2 separate regions of the Homo sapiens genome follow, and region 1 is linked to region 2. Evidence: promoter capture Hi-C in human tissues and cell types (Jung and others, 2019). All regions are on one chromosome and are shown on one strand. Each heading gives the region's core, a stretch centred on a gene start or on the middle of the fragment in contact. The rest is flanking DNA. Distances are from core to core; before and after follow the strand shown. Region 1 has its middle 23 kb from the start of TSKU. Region 2 holds the start of ACER3 (alkaline ceramidase 3).

Region 1 (7,212 bases), core at 4,500-6,999, 52 kb before region 2:
CAACCAGGGTTTCTTTAGTGGCCATCAGCTCCCAGGGGGTGATATCATGGAAGCTGTTATGCTTAGGAATTTGTTTAAAAAGACGTCCTGCCCTGTGCCCCAGTACATTTCAACACCACCCAGCCACACAGCCGCCTTCTGGCCCAACACTCTTAAAGACACAGTGCTTGGGAAATGTCCTCATGCCCCTTTCCTGAGGCAGGTTTGCCACTGTTTCCCCAGGCCTGGCAGTCACAGATGGCAGTCACTGACCTGCTGTGATTTGAGAGATGGAGAGAAAACCTTCCACTCTTCTTATTCTCCCTAATAGCCTCAGTCTCTGCCTTCAGTTCCACATTTCCCTTTGGCGTAAGCTATGATTGTCGTCCAAGGCCCCTCCTAGATAGGCAAGGACTCATGATACCAAGAGTGTGATCAGGGGATAGAGATGAGATGTCTGGGTTGGATGCGGGAGTGGGGTATTTTCTAACTAATGGGGTGCAAGGGGTACCTGAGCATGCTCTCAAAATGTGTTATACCCTAAAAAATGTTTTTAAGGTAGTGTGTTGATATAACAGTTGTTAAGACCATGATGCTAGAGGCAAGATCGTGAGATCCATAGAGAAGGTAGTTGAAGGGTAGGGCCTTTTATTCACATATATGCTGCCTTCTCCACCAACTGATGTGATATCCTTTTATATTCGTGACTCCAGTGAACCCACGCCTCTGAGGATTTACACCCTTGTATTTGTACTCCTCTTGAGTCTGGGCTGGCCTGTGACTTTAATCAGTGCAATGCAGAAGTGGTTCAGTGCCAGTTCTAAGACTACAAAGAGAAAGAAAAGTTCAACCTTCCAATATCCCAGCAGACATCAGGCCCCAGCTGTGTCACCAGCTTCACGCCCACGAGTGACCACAACAAACCCAGCAGAACCAACCAGCGCATCCCAGCCCTGGTTGCAGAATCATGAGTAAATAAAATGGTTGCTGTTCTAAGCCATCGTGCTTTGGAGTGGTTTCTTATATGTCAGTAGATGACTGAAACAACCAAAGCCACAGCCTCCGCCTCCCCCAGCCCCATTCCCCCACTCCTCCCCACTTGCTAACCTCCATGAAGCCCTGGGACTTGGGCAGCTGAAGGTGCAGAAAAGATGCCAAATGAAAAAGCCACCCTCCTTGACAACAACCCAGCTGAGGGGAGCAGGCAGAGAGGGGCGGTTGAAGGAAGCACGCTGCCTGGTGTTTGAAAGCATATGAGGGGCTGCCCTGAGCGCATCTCCTTACATTCTTGTCTCAAGACCACCCAGCAGGCATGGCCCCTCCAGGTAACCTTGCACTCTCCTCCCGGACCCCTCCCCAGTCCCCAGACAAACCCACCTCTCCCTCCTGGACTCTCCATGGGTCCCTTCTCCCCACCTGCCACTGGGATCAGGAAGAATAAAGACCTGAACTCACTGTCTTGTTTTTTGTTGTTGTTGTTTGCTTGTTTTTTGAGATGGAGTCTTGCTCTGGCACCAGGCTGGAGAGCAGTGGCACGATCTGGGCTCACTGCAACCTCCGCCTCCTGGGTTCAAGTGATTCTTCTGCCTCAGCCTCCTGAGTAGCTGGGACTACAGGAACGTGACACCAAGCCCAACTAATTTTTGTATTTTTAGTAGAGACGGGGTTTCACCATGTTGGCCAGGATGGTCTGGATCTCTTGACCTTGTGATCTACCCGCCTCAGCCTCCCAAAGTGCTGGGATTATAGGCGTGAGCCACTGTGCCCGGATTTTTTTTTTTTTTTTAAAGACAGAGTTTGCTCTTCTTTCCCAGGCTGGAGTGCAATGGCATGATTTCAGCTCAATGCTACCTCTGCCTCCGGGGTTCAAGCGATTCTCCTGTTTCAGCCTCCCAAGTAGCTGAGATTACAGGCACCCGCCACCACACCCGGCTATTTCTGTATTTTTAGTAGAGATGGGGGTTTCACCATGTTGGCCAGGCTGGTCTCGAACTCCTGACCTCAGGTGATCCACCCGCTTCAGCCTCCCAAAGTGCTGGGATTACAGGCATGAGCCACCACGCCAGGCTCACTGTCCTGTTTCCATCGGACCAAGGGACTCCCAAGAGGGGAACTGAGGCTAAATGAGGCCAGTCACTGTGTGGGGGCAGGTGGAAGCTGCTCAGAGGGGAGGAGGTGGAGGGGACAGACCAGCACTCCCAGAGGACCCTGGGAAAGGTGTAGCTTTTGGGCGCTTCCCGCAGACTGTGGGCAAAGTCATACTTAGTGCAAGCTTTAAATACTCTCCCCACACACAGACACAAACACTGTCATTCCTGGACTTGCCCCACCCACCGGTAACATTCGACATCCTGCTCAGACACGTGAGGCTGGTGGGGAGGGGACAGAATGGGTGCATGCTGGGCATGTGGGAGTGAGTCTGGATTCTAAACAGACCTCAGAAGTGACTACACAGACATCCTTTGCTAACATGTTCTAAAGAAGGGTGACCTCAAGGATAGAGGAGGAGAGGGGGAGGAATGAATGCTTCCCTGTCCTCGCACCCACCAGCCTGATTAGCTCCCACTCATCCCTCCTACCTCAGCTGCCATGCCACCTCTTCTGGGAAGCCCTCCCTAACCACCTCCCCTCATCCTACGACAGGCAAAGTTAGACGTTCCTCCTCTGTGCCAGCCCAGTACCTGGTCTTGCCTTCAGAGTGATGCTCATCATATTTACTTTGTGTTTATTTTTCCAGCTTCCACTCATCCCCAGAGGCAGGAACTGTTCCTGCCTTGCTCCCCACAGGGTCCATATCACCTAGGCTGGTGCCCAGCACATAGTTGGTTGTCGATTCATATCTGTAGGATTAATAAATGGGTCTGTTATATCCGTTTTACTGATGGTGAAATGAAGGACCAGAGAGAGTAAGTGGCCTTTCCAAGGCTTCACAGCAAGCTTGTGGAAGAAACCACCAAGAAACCAGCTCTTGAGACTTCCAGCATTTGTTCCAGTTCCTCTGCAAGGGAAACCCCCATTCCCTGCTCTCTCTTTTTCCCCTCCTCACAGGCAGCAGGTATGTGCACAGACAGGCCTGGAGCTGGGCTAGGGTAGGAGTCCCCTGTGAGGCTCCACCTCTGCCTCTCCAGCTCCTTGGCCGGGACCCACTTCTGCTCCAACTCTTGCTGGCCATTAAGTCTGTGCCCCGCCTCACTCAGCCCGCCGCAGCCCCACTGCCTGTGGAGAGGTGAGTCCCACCTCTCTGAGCCTGCTCCCTTCCCCAGCCATAAGACGAATCAGCCTAGGAGATTCTGAGGCTCCTTCAGCCAGGAGGGCCTGTGATGCCCTGTGAAGACGGAAGAGGCTGGGGCCAGCTCCATGCTGCCTGCAGCGTGGCTCAAAGCACAAGCCTTCACCAAACATCAGAAAGGCCCAGAAATCTCATTTTTTCCCAAATGTTCCAGAATTTGACTTCAATGTCACATACTTTTAAAACTTCCCCGTGTGTGGGGAGAGGGTAGGGAGTCTTAGTTTTCAGTTTTTCAAAACAAGCAAATCCAGATGATCTTACTGCATAATCAGGTTTGGGCCACACTTTAAAGTTGACATGGATCTTCCATTTCATACCACACCTCATTTGCTCTGTGCAGCCTTCCTGTGAGGACAGCAGGGCAGGGCTTAGAATCAGCCCATTTCACAGTCAAGGAAAACGATGTCCAGACAGTAGGTGGCAGGGCCTGGGACTTACACTCAGAGGCCCTGTCCCAAATTATGTCTGCTTCCTGCTCTCCACAGAGTGATTTGAGTTGAAAGGAGAAAAAAAAGAAAGAAAAAGAAAGAAAGAAAGAAATTAAGGAAGGAGTGGGAAGGAAGGAAGGAAAGGAGAGGGAAGGGAGGGAAGGAGGGAAGGAAGGGAGGGAAGGAGGGAAGGAATGAAGGAAGGAAGGAAGGAAGGAAGGAAGGAAGGAAGGACAGAGAGAGAGAGAAGGAAGAAAAGAAAGAAGAAAAAAAGGTTGCGTATAATAACTTGATTGGTAGACCTGCCGGAGGAGCCTGCTTAGCCCTGGCAGGAGGCTAAGTCATTTGGTGGGAAGCCCTTTCTCTAGGGGATGGGGTGAGAGATGACAAGAATAATAAAACTCTGAGACAAAGCCAACAGCATGCTGAGTGACTCAAAGGATTAGGGCAGCCCAGGGAGTAGGCCCCTGGGTCTCAGCGTGCAGGATTTGTCCCCACATACACGTGAAAGCCATGTGTTTGGCAGAGACACCACAGTCCTAGCCATGGGGCATCCAGAGATGGACTAGAGCCAGCCCTGGCCCCAGTGGCTTTCCATCCCATGGGAGAGTCGAATGACTGCAATACAAGGTGAAAAGTGACTGCATAGGCAGGGCACGAGCTTGAGTTCCCATCTGACAAGAGGGGCAAACTAGGTGAAAACTTGCAAGAATGGAGTTGCGGGCGGAGTGTGTTGCAGGTCTCCAACTTGTCACGGAGTTTGTGCCCACCAGAGGGCGCTGCCTTAGACACTCCCGTTCCTTTCTCCGCCCGCCCATTGCTCCCTTTCTCCCTGCCCTGTGCCGGGCTTGTCGCTCTATACACAGGCCGGGGGTTAGAGGGGTCCCCACAAGAGGAAAGCGAAGGGCAAGCTCAGACGCAGAAGTCTGATGAGCAGCGGTTTTCAGCAGCCACCAAGGACTCCACTTTCACATCTTCCCCTCCGATAAAAGAACTTTCAACCTGGTGTTTTATAGAATTTAAAAAATAATGTTTATTCAGCAGGCCGGGCCTGGTGGCTCATGCCTGTAATCCCAGAACTTCTGGAGGCTGAGATGGGAGAATTGCTTTAGTCCAGGAGTTCGAGACCAGCCCGGACAACATAGTGAGACCCTGTCTCTAAAATAAATAAATAAATATTTTTTAAAAAGTAAAATAAAATTCAATAAATAGTTTAGAGGGTCTCCTGTGTCCAGACCCAAAGACAAGTACTGGGGAAAGAGCCATGACCACAGACCACCTTGGTCCCTGCTGTCATGGAGGTGGTCATCTACGGGGAGGGCCAACAGTAAATGGGTGCCTGGGCATCTAAGTAAGTGAGGAGATGGTGAATGCTACAAAGAGGGCAAATTGGAGCACAGTAGAGGTGACGGGGGTGCCGGCAGAGGTAACGCGGTTGGGTGCTACTCTCACGTTTGAGCTGAGACTTAAAAGAAGGGAGGAAGCCAACCCTGCGGGGACCTGAGGAACCTTTTCCAAGGGAGGAAATCTCGGTGCAAAGACCTCAAGGAGTGAGTGAGCTTGGCACACTCAGGAAGGACGCGAGGCTGGCCGGGGCTTGATGGGAGAATTGAGGGCAGCGAGGCTGGCTGGATAGACCACTGTCAGTGCTGCGGATTTTACTCCAGTCACAGCAGGAAGCCAATTAGAGGCCTTTAGACAGAGGTGACACAGGCTCTGGGGACACTTTACAAAGATTGCCCTGGCTGTGAGTGCCAGAGCAGAAGCAGAGAGATCCATTAGGAAGTCCTTGCCATAAACCAGGAAGGAGATGAGAGTGACTTGATGGTAGCAGTGGAGATAGGAAGAAATGTAGGAATTTGGGTCTGTTTTAAAATAAAAATAAAACTTGCCGATGAAATGACAGGTTATTCGGTGCCAGGCGCTGAGATGTACACTTTGTGTGTATTGACTTATTCATTCTCGCTATATATAAAGCTGTTTTACAGAGGAGAAAATGGAAGCTCAGGGAGGTTAAGTAATTTGCCCAAGGTCCCATAGCCGATAAGTGACAGATTCTACATTTTAAAAACGAGTCTGTCGATTCCAGAGCCCACAAACAGACTGCTCAATGCAGAGAATGGGAAGCAAAAGATTAGACATACAGAATCAGAAATGGAATCCCAGAGTGCTAGTCCAACAACTTTGACGCAGGCTTCAGCCCAGACCAGAGACTTGTCTCAACTGTTTGGTTGTTCTCTTGGCCAAGGACAGCTGCCCTGGGATCCAAAAGCTCATCAGAGAAAGCTCCCAAGAGCTCAAGTCTGCATTCTTCCCCTCCTTGGGTAACCCACTCATGGTCACCCAGCCAGTTTAAATCCTGGGTCCTCTGACCTTCCTGTCCAGGCCTCCTCCCTATCCCCACAGAGCCCGCTCAGCACAGGGTAAGACCAAGAACATCACGTGGCCACTGCTCACGTCAGATGAGAGCATGGCATATTCCCCTCCTGAGTTCTTGGCTTTTTAACACGGACCTCAGAGCTTTAACTAAAAGTATTTGACTATGCATCCAGGTGCTGTGGCTCATGCCTGTAATCCCAGCACTTTAGGAGACCGAGGCCAGTGGATCACTTGAGATCGGGAATTCAAGAGCAGCCTGGCCAACATGGTGAAACCCCATCTCTACTAAAAGAACAAAAAATACAAAAAAAAATAGCAAGCCTGTAATCCCAGCTATTTGGGAGACTGAGGCAGGAGAATTGCTTGAACCCAGGAGGCAGAGAGAGGCTGCAGTGAGCTGAGATCACACCACTGCACTCCAGCCTGGGCGACAGAGGGAGACTCCATCTCAAAAAATAAAAAATAAAAATAAAAAAAATTGGCCGGGCGCGGTGGCTCACGCCTGTAATCCCAGCACTTTGGGAGGCTGAGGCGGGCAGATCACAAGGTCAGGAGATCAAGACCATCCTGGCTAACACGGTGAAACCCCATCTCTACTAAAAATACAAAAAATTAGCCGGGTGTGGTGGTGGATGCCTGTAGTCCCAGCTACTCGGGAGGCTGAGGCAGGAGAATGGCATGAACCCGGGAGGCGGAGCTTGCAGTAAGCCGAGATCGCGCCACTGCACTCCAGCCTGGGCAACAGAACGAGACTCTGTCTCAAAAACAAACAAAAAAATTGATTATGTGGAGGCACCCAGGCATAAAGGTAGGTCAGCAGGGAAGGTATTTTGCTCCTCAAATTGGGGTGGCAGAGAGCTGGGGTACCTTGAATTCAATCATTCCTACCATGTTCAAGCTGCGTCACAGAAGCGTGGGACATGAACACTGTTTACAACCCATTTCTAACAAGCTCAGAGCCTGCTGAAAGAGTTACCAAGGTAATCAGCTGGAGCCCCCGTCACAGGGCCTGGCACACTGAGGGGTTCCTTCCTCCGCTCCCTGAGGCTGGGGTTCAGGGAGCACATCCCAGGACATGACGCCGTGTCGGTTTTGACTGGTCAGTACTGGTGCGATGCTAGTGTCAGTCCTTTGGCT
Region 2 (6,926 bases), core at 2,233-4,732:
TTTGCAAATAATTTCTTTCATTCTGTGGGTTGTCTTTTCACTTTCTTGATGGTATCATTTTCAGCAAAGGAGTTTTTAATTTTGATGAAGTCCAATTTATCTATTTTTCCCTTTGTCGCTTGTGTTTTTGGTGTTTTATATAAGAAACCATTGCCTACCCAAGGTTACAAATATTTATTTTTATGTAAACTTCTAAGAATTGTATAGTTTTGGCTCTTACATTTAGGTCTATGATCTATTTTGAGTTGAATTTTGTTTATTGTAACAGGAAGCATTCTAATTTCATTCTTTTGCATGTGGATATCCAGTTGTCCCAGCACCATTTGTTGAAAGACTATTCAATCCCTATTGAATTGTCTTGGCATCCTTGTTAAAAATCAATTGACCATAAATGTAAGGGTTTATTGCTGGACTCTCAATTCGATTCCTTTGATCTACATGTCTATCTTCATGCCAGTACTGCACTGTCTTCATTACTATAGTTTTACAGTAAGTGTTGAAATCAGGAAGTATAAGTCCTCCAGCTTTGTTCTTCTTTTTTGAGATAGTTTTGACTTGTCTGGGTCCCTTACATTTCCAGGCATTGCTTTTATGCTCAAGGGGGGAAATTTTTTAGAAAAAAAGAAAAAGGAAGGTAGATATTGCTGAAGGAACTGTGAAATTCATTTTGTGTTTTCTGAGTGAAACTTCTGCAATGCACCTTTTCTCTCGGATGGGGGAATTTCTCTCTCCTAAAATCCGTCCTGGTCACGGTAGATTTCCTTTTTCACTATTGAGGAACATTGTGCAGAGTATTGACTCAGCCAAGGCCTCATCCTGCCTTGAGTCACTTGGCTGGGTCAGGGGTTATTTTCACATAGGGGGTTCCACAACACCCTAATTTTTTTTTTACTCCTAGCTAAGAATGATCATACTCTATTGTTGTGGTCTCTGCACTGTTCTGATTGCACACCTCATCGGCAAATCACTTTTGCGTATGAGTTTTTGCATATTCATTTTGAGCATATAAATATATAAATATTTCATTCATTTATAAATTATATATGCTCATGATTATTACATAAACACATAAACAAAACGGAAGTTTTAGAATATGAGATAAAGTGACTAGAAATAGATGTTTCCCCACACCTCAATGGCTTTTATCTCTCTGGAGACGGCCTTCTTGGATCTTTCATGTTTACCTCTGTGTGGTCCTAGCACCCAGGCAGCCAAACAGGGCCTGGTATATAGTAGAAGCTCAATGACATTCAAAATAAAAATTTCAGGCCAGGCAGGGTGTAACTCAGGCCTGTAATCCCAGGACTTTCGGAGGCCAAGGAGGGTGGATCACTCAAGGTCAGGAGTTCAAGACTGGCCTGGCCAACATGGTGAAATCTCGTCTCTATTAAAAATACAAAAATTAGCCAGGTGTGGTGGCAGCCTCCTGTAATCCCAGCTATGGGGATGAGGGGGTACTGAGGCACGATTCCCGGAAGGCAGAAGTTGCAGCGAGCCAAGATGGCACCACTGCACTCCAGCCTGGGCGACAGATCGAGATTCTGTCTCAAAAAAGAAAAATTTCAGAGAGGCTACTATTCGTATTAAAATACACTGCTTCCGGCCGGGTGCGATGGCTCACGCCTGTAATCCCAGCACTTTGGGAGGCCGAGGCGGGTGAATCACGAGGTCAAGAGATCGAGGCCAGCCTGGCCAACAAGGTGAAACCCTGTCTCTACTAAAAATACAAAAATTAGCTGGGCGTGGTGGTGCACACCTGTAGTCCCAGCTACTCTGGAGGCTGAGACAGGAGAATCGCTTAAACCCAGGGGGCGGAAGTTGCGGTGAGCTGAGATCATGCCAGTGCATTCCAGCCTGGCCGACAGAGCAAGACTGTCTCAAAAAAAAAAAAAAAAAAAAAAAAAGATACACTGCTTCCCTAGGTTTTGCACCTAGCAAATAAAAGTTCTGCATCTATTTCCTGCTAATTGGCTATGGTTATTTTGTAGAAAGGCTGTGGGCTCTTCATCTCTCCTTGTCCTCTCTTTTACCTTTGACTTGCACCACATCTGACTTATTTATTTAGAAAATAGCAGTTGTATCATCCTTCATTTTTACTCTTCATTTCTTACTGTGTATTCAGGCAGAGTCCTAATACTAAGACCATAAAGAAGGGAAAGCAAGGTCTCTGATCAGGATGTAGCACAGTAGGATGTGAACAAAGGGCAAGGAAGCTCTAGGGTGTAAACATCTGGGATGGCTTCAGAGAGCTGGATTTTAAAAGAAGAGTGGGGAGTTGGTCAAACGGAGAAGAGAGTTAGGCTGTCCCAGTTGAACTGTGGGAGCAAAGGCAGGTGACCCAGCGCATTCTAGGAGAGGGGAAAGTTTGAGTTTGGTGTAGCTGAACACTAGGGGCAAGGGTGGTTGCATCTGTTTTAGGAAGAGCTCTCTGGCAGACCTGTGGAGTACTAGACTTTTTATTTATTTATTTATTTATTTATTTATTTATTTATTTAGAGACAGGGTCTCGCTCTGTTCTCCCAGGCTGGATTGGCACAGTCTCAGCTCACTGCATGCAATCTCCACCGCGGGGGCTCAAGTGATCCTCCCACCTCAGCTTCTCAAGTAGCTGGGACCACACGTCTGAGCCACCGCGCCCAGCTAATTTTTGTATTTTTCGTAGACACGGGGTTTTGCCGTCTACGATACTCCCAGACGGGGGCTGGGAGTATTAGACTTGAAGTTGGAAGTAGGGGTAGGCTGTTGGTTGCCTGAAGAGCAGGGCACAATTATAGTTAGAACGTGGAAACCTCTGTGCTTGGAGGCCCAAACGAAGCAGGGAAACTTTGCTTTAGTGCTCTAGCTAGCAGCATTCTTTTTTTTTAGGATCTCAGAACCTACTTTTTTTTTTTCGGTCCTGGGTTGTTCACCCTTTCCCTTTGTACCGAAGAGACACTTACACCTTTATCAGAAAATCACGGTTTATTTCCTGAGAATCACGGGGATTGGTTGGGGGTACTCTGTTTTGGGGCTCCATTTGAGGCCTGTGGCTCAATGGAAGACATAGAGGCGCTTCGCCGCACAGGTTTAATCAAGCAAGGGCTTGATAGAAGTATTCATCCCACCCCCGCCCCGATTAAATCAAACCACACGCACACAAATAGAGGCTCTGGCACATCCTGACAGAATATAGCCTCTGGGATGTCAGGAACCCCCAACCTACGGCCATTGGCGTGTCTGCACCGGCCAGGAAGCCCAGGCCCCCGGCTCCTTCCTGGATCACGCCCCTGCCCCGCCCAAGGGTGAAGAGGGGCGGGGCCAGCCGGCGCCCTCCGAGTGGGCCTTACACCAGGTCGGGCCTGGCCCGGCCCCGCGGCCCAGCGGCGCCGGTGGGCGGGGCCTCCGTCAGGGCAGTGTCAGTAACGGCGCCAGGCCCCGCCCCTCGGGGAGGCAGGGCCGGGCGGGGCGCGAGCGAGCGCGCGGGCTGGGCCGGAGCCGGCCTGGTCGCCAGCCTAACCCGGCACAGTGAGCGGAGCGCCTGGGCGGCGGCGGCGGCGGCGTGATGGCTCCGGCCGCGGACCGAGAGGGCTACTGGGGCCCCACGACCTCCACGCTGGACTGGTGCGAGGAGAACTACTCCGTGACCTGGTACATCGCCGAGTTCTGTGAGTGTGGCCTGAGGAGGGGAGTGGGGGCGAGAGGGCACCGGGCTGAGGAGACGCCGTGTGAGGAAGGCAAAGAGCGAACCTGGCCGCGAAGGGAGGTGCCAGGCCTGGCCCCGGGAGCTGGAATGCGGCGCCCTGGGCCAGCGGGAGGCTGAGAGGAGCGGGCCGGGAGTCCAGTGTGTAGAGGGAGGAGTACCGGGGTCTGGGAGGGAGGAAGGGGGCCTGAGGATTGGGGGGGCAGAAGAGCAGTGGGAAGTGGGGAGCCCCTGCTGGACCTAAGGGGGAAAGCCTGAAGAGCCGGGTTGGGAATGGGAATTCCTGCCCGAGAGCGGAGTGGGGCCAGGCTGGGAGAGTGGAGGACCCTGCCCCTTGGAATGAGGGCCCAGGACACCTGCTCTGCTGTTGCCACCACCAGAAGGGTACAGTTCCTAGCTTCGTCTTTCCCCCAATCCGTGAGAATTCTACCGTCTTTCCCTTCCCTTTTCACTGGAATATTAGACCTCCTTGCTCACCTCCAGGGAACAGTTTCACTAGTCTGAGATCTGAACCATCCCACCCCTATCCCCCAGGATGTCTTCAAGTACCAGAGGTCATCTGCTCTCTGAGTATGATTATTCAACTGTCATCTTGCACCAGGAGTCGAAGGCATCTTGCACCTAGCCTGTACCTTCTGCCCCTGCCAGGCTCCCAAGAGCACAGAGGACCAAGTCCCTGCTCCATTCTGTCCTATCCAACTATCTAGGAGTTAGGGGTCATCTGAGGACACTACTTCCACCGACTGCACCTTCTGAGGATTTAAGCATTCTTCTTTAGCGGCTGCTCTGTCAGGCACTGCTGGTCAGGTTGGGCTTGTTCTGTGTGCCTATGTGGGTGTCTGTCTGTTTTCCTAGACGATTTTTCCTGCCAGGCTAGGAGAAATCTGCCACTTCTTTTTCTATCATTTAATCAGGTTTTGAGAGCACAATATTTGATCCTTCTTTTAGGTACCTGCTTCTGGCAAAGTGCAAAGACTATCCTTTGGCTAATGATTACTGCCTTCTTTTAGTTGGATCTACTTCTCAGGACGTGAAGTGAAACTCTTCTTAGCTAACCTTCTCATTGTTGAGTCCTGTTCTCAGGCATCTGTGCATGGCTTTGTAGGAAAGAGGCAAGCATATCATGACAAATGGTCCCACTTTATTCTGTTCTGGTAATTGGCTAAGTTTCAAAAAAAAAAAAAAAGAACACTTTTTGCAGTTTTCAGGACTTTAGTACTATTCTCTTATGACCATGATTTAGGCTAAGAGTCACTTTTCTTCAACTATTAAATTAATAATTTTTACATAATCATGGAGAAATATTGGCAAAGGGATCATTTGTAATACAATTACTTGGGAACCCACATGTTGGCAAAGGAAGCGCTTTACCAGTTTGTTGTTAGATCACTTTGGCAAGCCCATGCCTGGTCCAGAGAACCATGACCACGAGGAAAGAGATGTAAAACCATGCACTCTGCGCTGGAAATGTGTAACATGGAAAAGAGGAATTCAAGAGTCTTCAAATATTGGATGGGCTATCATATAGAATAATTTTTTTTTAATTTATTTGGAATCTGGAATTAGGGCATATGGGCAGAAACTAACTGTAATGGGGAAAAGTTTGCTTCAATATAAGGAAAAACCTTCTCACCAATGATATGGGAAAGGTTGACTTGGGGGACAGAGGACTTTCTGTCACTGAAAGTGTTAAATCAGACATTGTTCAATGAACTCAATATTTTCGAAGGAAAAAATTATTTAATAGAGAAAAGGGGCTGGCCTTAGTTGCAGCTTTATGGGTCTATGTAGGTAATAATGACTCTTAGTTTAGAACCAAGAAAAAACTGGGCTGGGCATCGTGGCCCATGCCTGTAATCCCAGCACTTTGGGAGGCCAAGGCAGGAGGACTGCTTGAGGCCAGGAGTTTGAGTCCAGCCTGGGCAACATAGTGAGACCCTGTCTCCATAAAAAATAAAAAAAATTAGATATGCATGGTGGTTTGTGCCTGTAGTCCCAGCTACTTAGGAGACTGAGGTGGGAAGATCACTTGAGCCCAGGAGTTCAAGGTTGCTGTGAGCTGTAATTATGCCACTGCACTCCAGCCTGGGCAAGAGTTAGACCCTATTTCTACAAAAAAAATATAAAAAATGCAAAGAGAGAAAACTGGCGGTAAGTCATGTGGACTCTGAGAGAGCAAGATACTGTGTTCTGGCAGATAGCTCTGAGAAATGGGAAATGACATTTGTTCTCAATGTGCTCAGAAGAGGAAACTCTGAGCAGACTGCAGGGAGGGTTTTGACATAGGAATCAGAGGGGTTGCAAGAAGAGGATGAGTGAATGTTTGCAGCCCTTTGCGCATGCACCTTGGGAGAAAATCATCTGGAGGAAGTTGAGGTCAAGTCATCTTACCATAGCAAGTCATGAGTATCTACAGTAATATATCTTGGACTAAGATAATTTGATCTTTGAAAAATATGCTGATTAATAATAATATGTTTAAAATATGTGTTTAAAGCAAGTGCAATATTAACATCACGATAGTATTTACATTAACAATAGTATTGATGGTAATATTAAGGATAATGTAATAATAGCTATTATCTAAGTGGTCACTTGTACTACACTTTGCTAAGCACTTCATATATCTTATCTCTTTTGATCTTTACAGTAATTTCAAAAAGAAGGTATTATTATCCCCATTTCAAAGATAAGGAGATTGAAGTTCTAAGAAATAATTTACCTAAGATTACAGTAAGTGATGTAGAGATAGTGTTCACATTGAAGTCTGACTCTAAAGCTACTATCCATGTTACCTCTCCATCATTACTTCTATCACACATTCATTGTTTTGCCCCTATATTCAAGAAAGGAAGACAGATATGAAATACTATGCTATCACACAGGACAAATTGAACAACTATTCAGTTTACTCAACCATCTTTCAACTATCTTTCAGCATTAGAATATATGTATTTTAGGGAATAATGAAGTGTTTGGGGAATTGCATATTCAGATATGGCAGTAGTTCTCAGTCACTTTCAGCACCCGAAAACTGTCTTCCTAGCATCAGCCAAGATCAGTTTAAATTCCTTTTGTTTGAGCATATTGTAAAGACCAGAGGAAAAGGTCTCTCATTGTGAAATAATAAGCCCCTTGACCTGCCAGAAGTTAGAGGTACAGGCAGTCCTTGCTTTGCATCATAGTGTGGGACCACACAAATGACTGTGCAAGTTAAAACCAGGTAACACTATGTTAATAATCAATG

The links. Contacts are between HindIII fragments. The study calls those that stand out against the background at their distance.
Region 1: a fragment that was not itself captured here is called in contact with the fragment with the promoter of ACER3 in region 2 in 9 of the 25 tissues and cell types used here (IMR-90 fibroblasts, adrenal gland, aorta and 6 more).

Annotation. Positions count from the first base shown.
Region 1 is chr11:76,803,122-76,810,333 of GRCh38, forward strand. No RefSeq gene overlaps it. Among named protein-coding and RNA genes, the nearest start is that of TSKU, 23 kb to the left of the region's middle. RefSeq lists enhancers at 4,244-4,293, 4,374-4,423. The HindIII fragment of the contact is 6,333 bases long and covers 2,584-7,212 here.
Region 2 is chr11:76,857,436-76,864,361 of GRCh38, forward strand. It overlaps ACER3 (alkaline ceramidase 3), which reads left to right and starts at 3,483. Exons shown (of 11, transcript NM_018367.7): 1 at 3,483-3,644. The coding sequence starts at 3,542. RefSeq lists silencers at 3,156-3,255, 3,296-3,555. The HindIII fragment of the contact is 20,791 bases long and covers 1-6,926 here.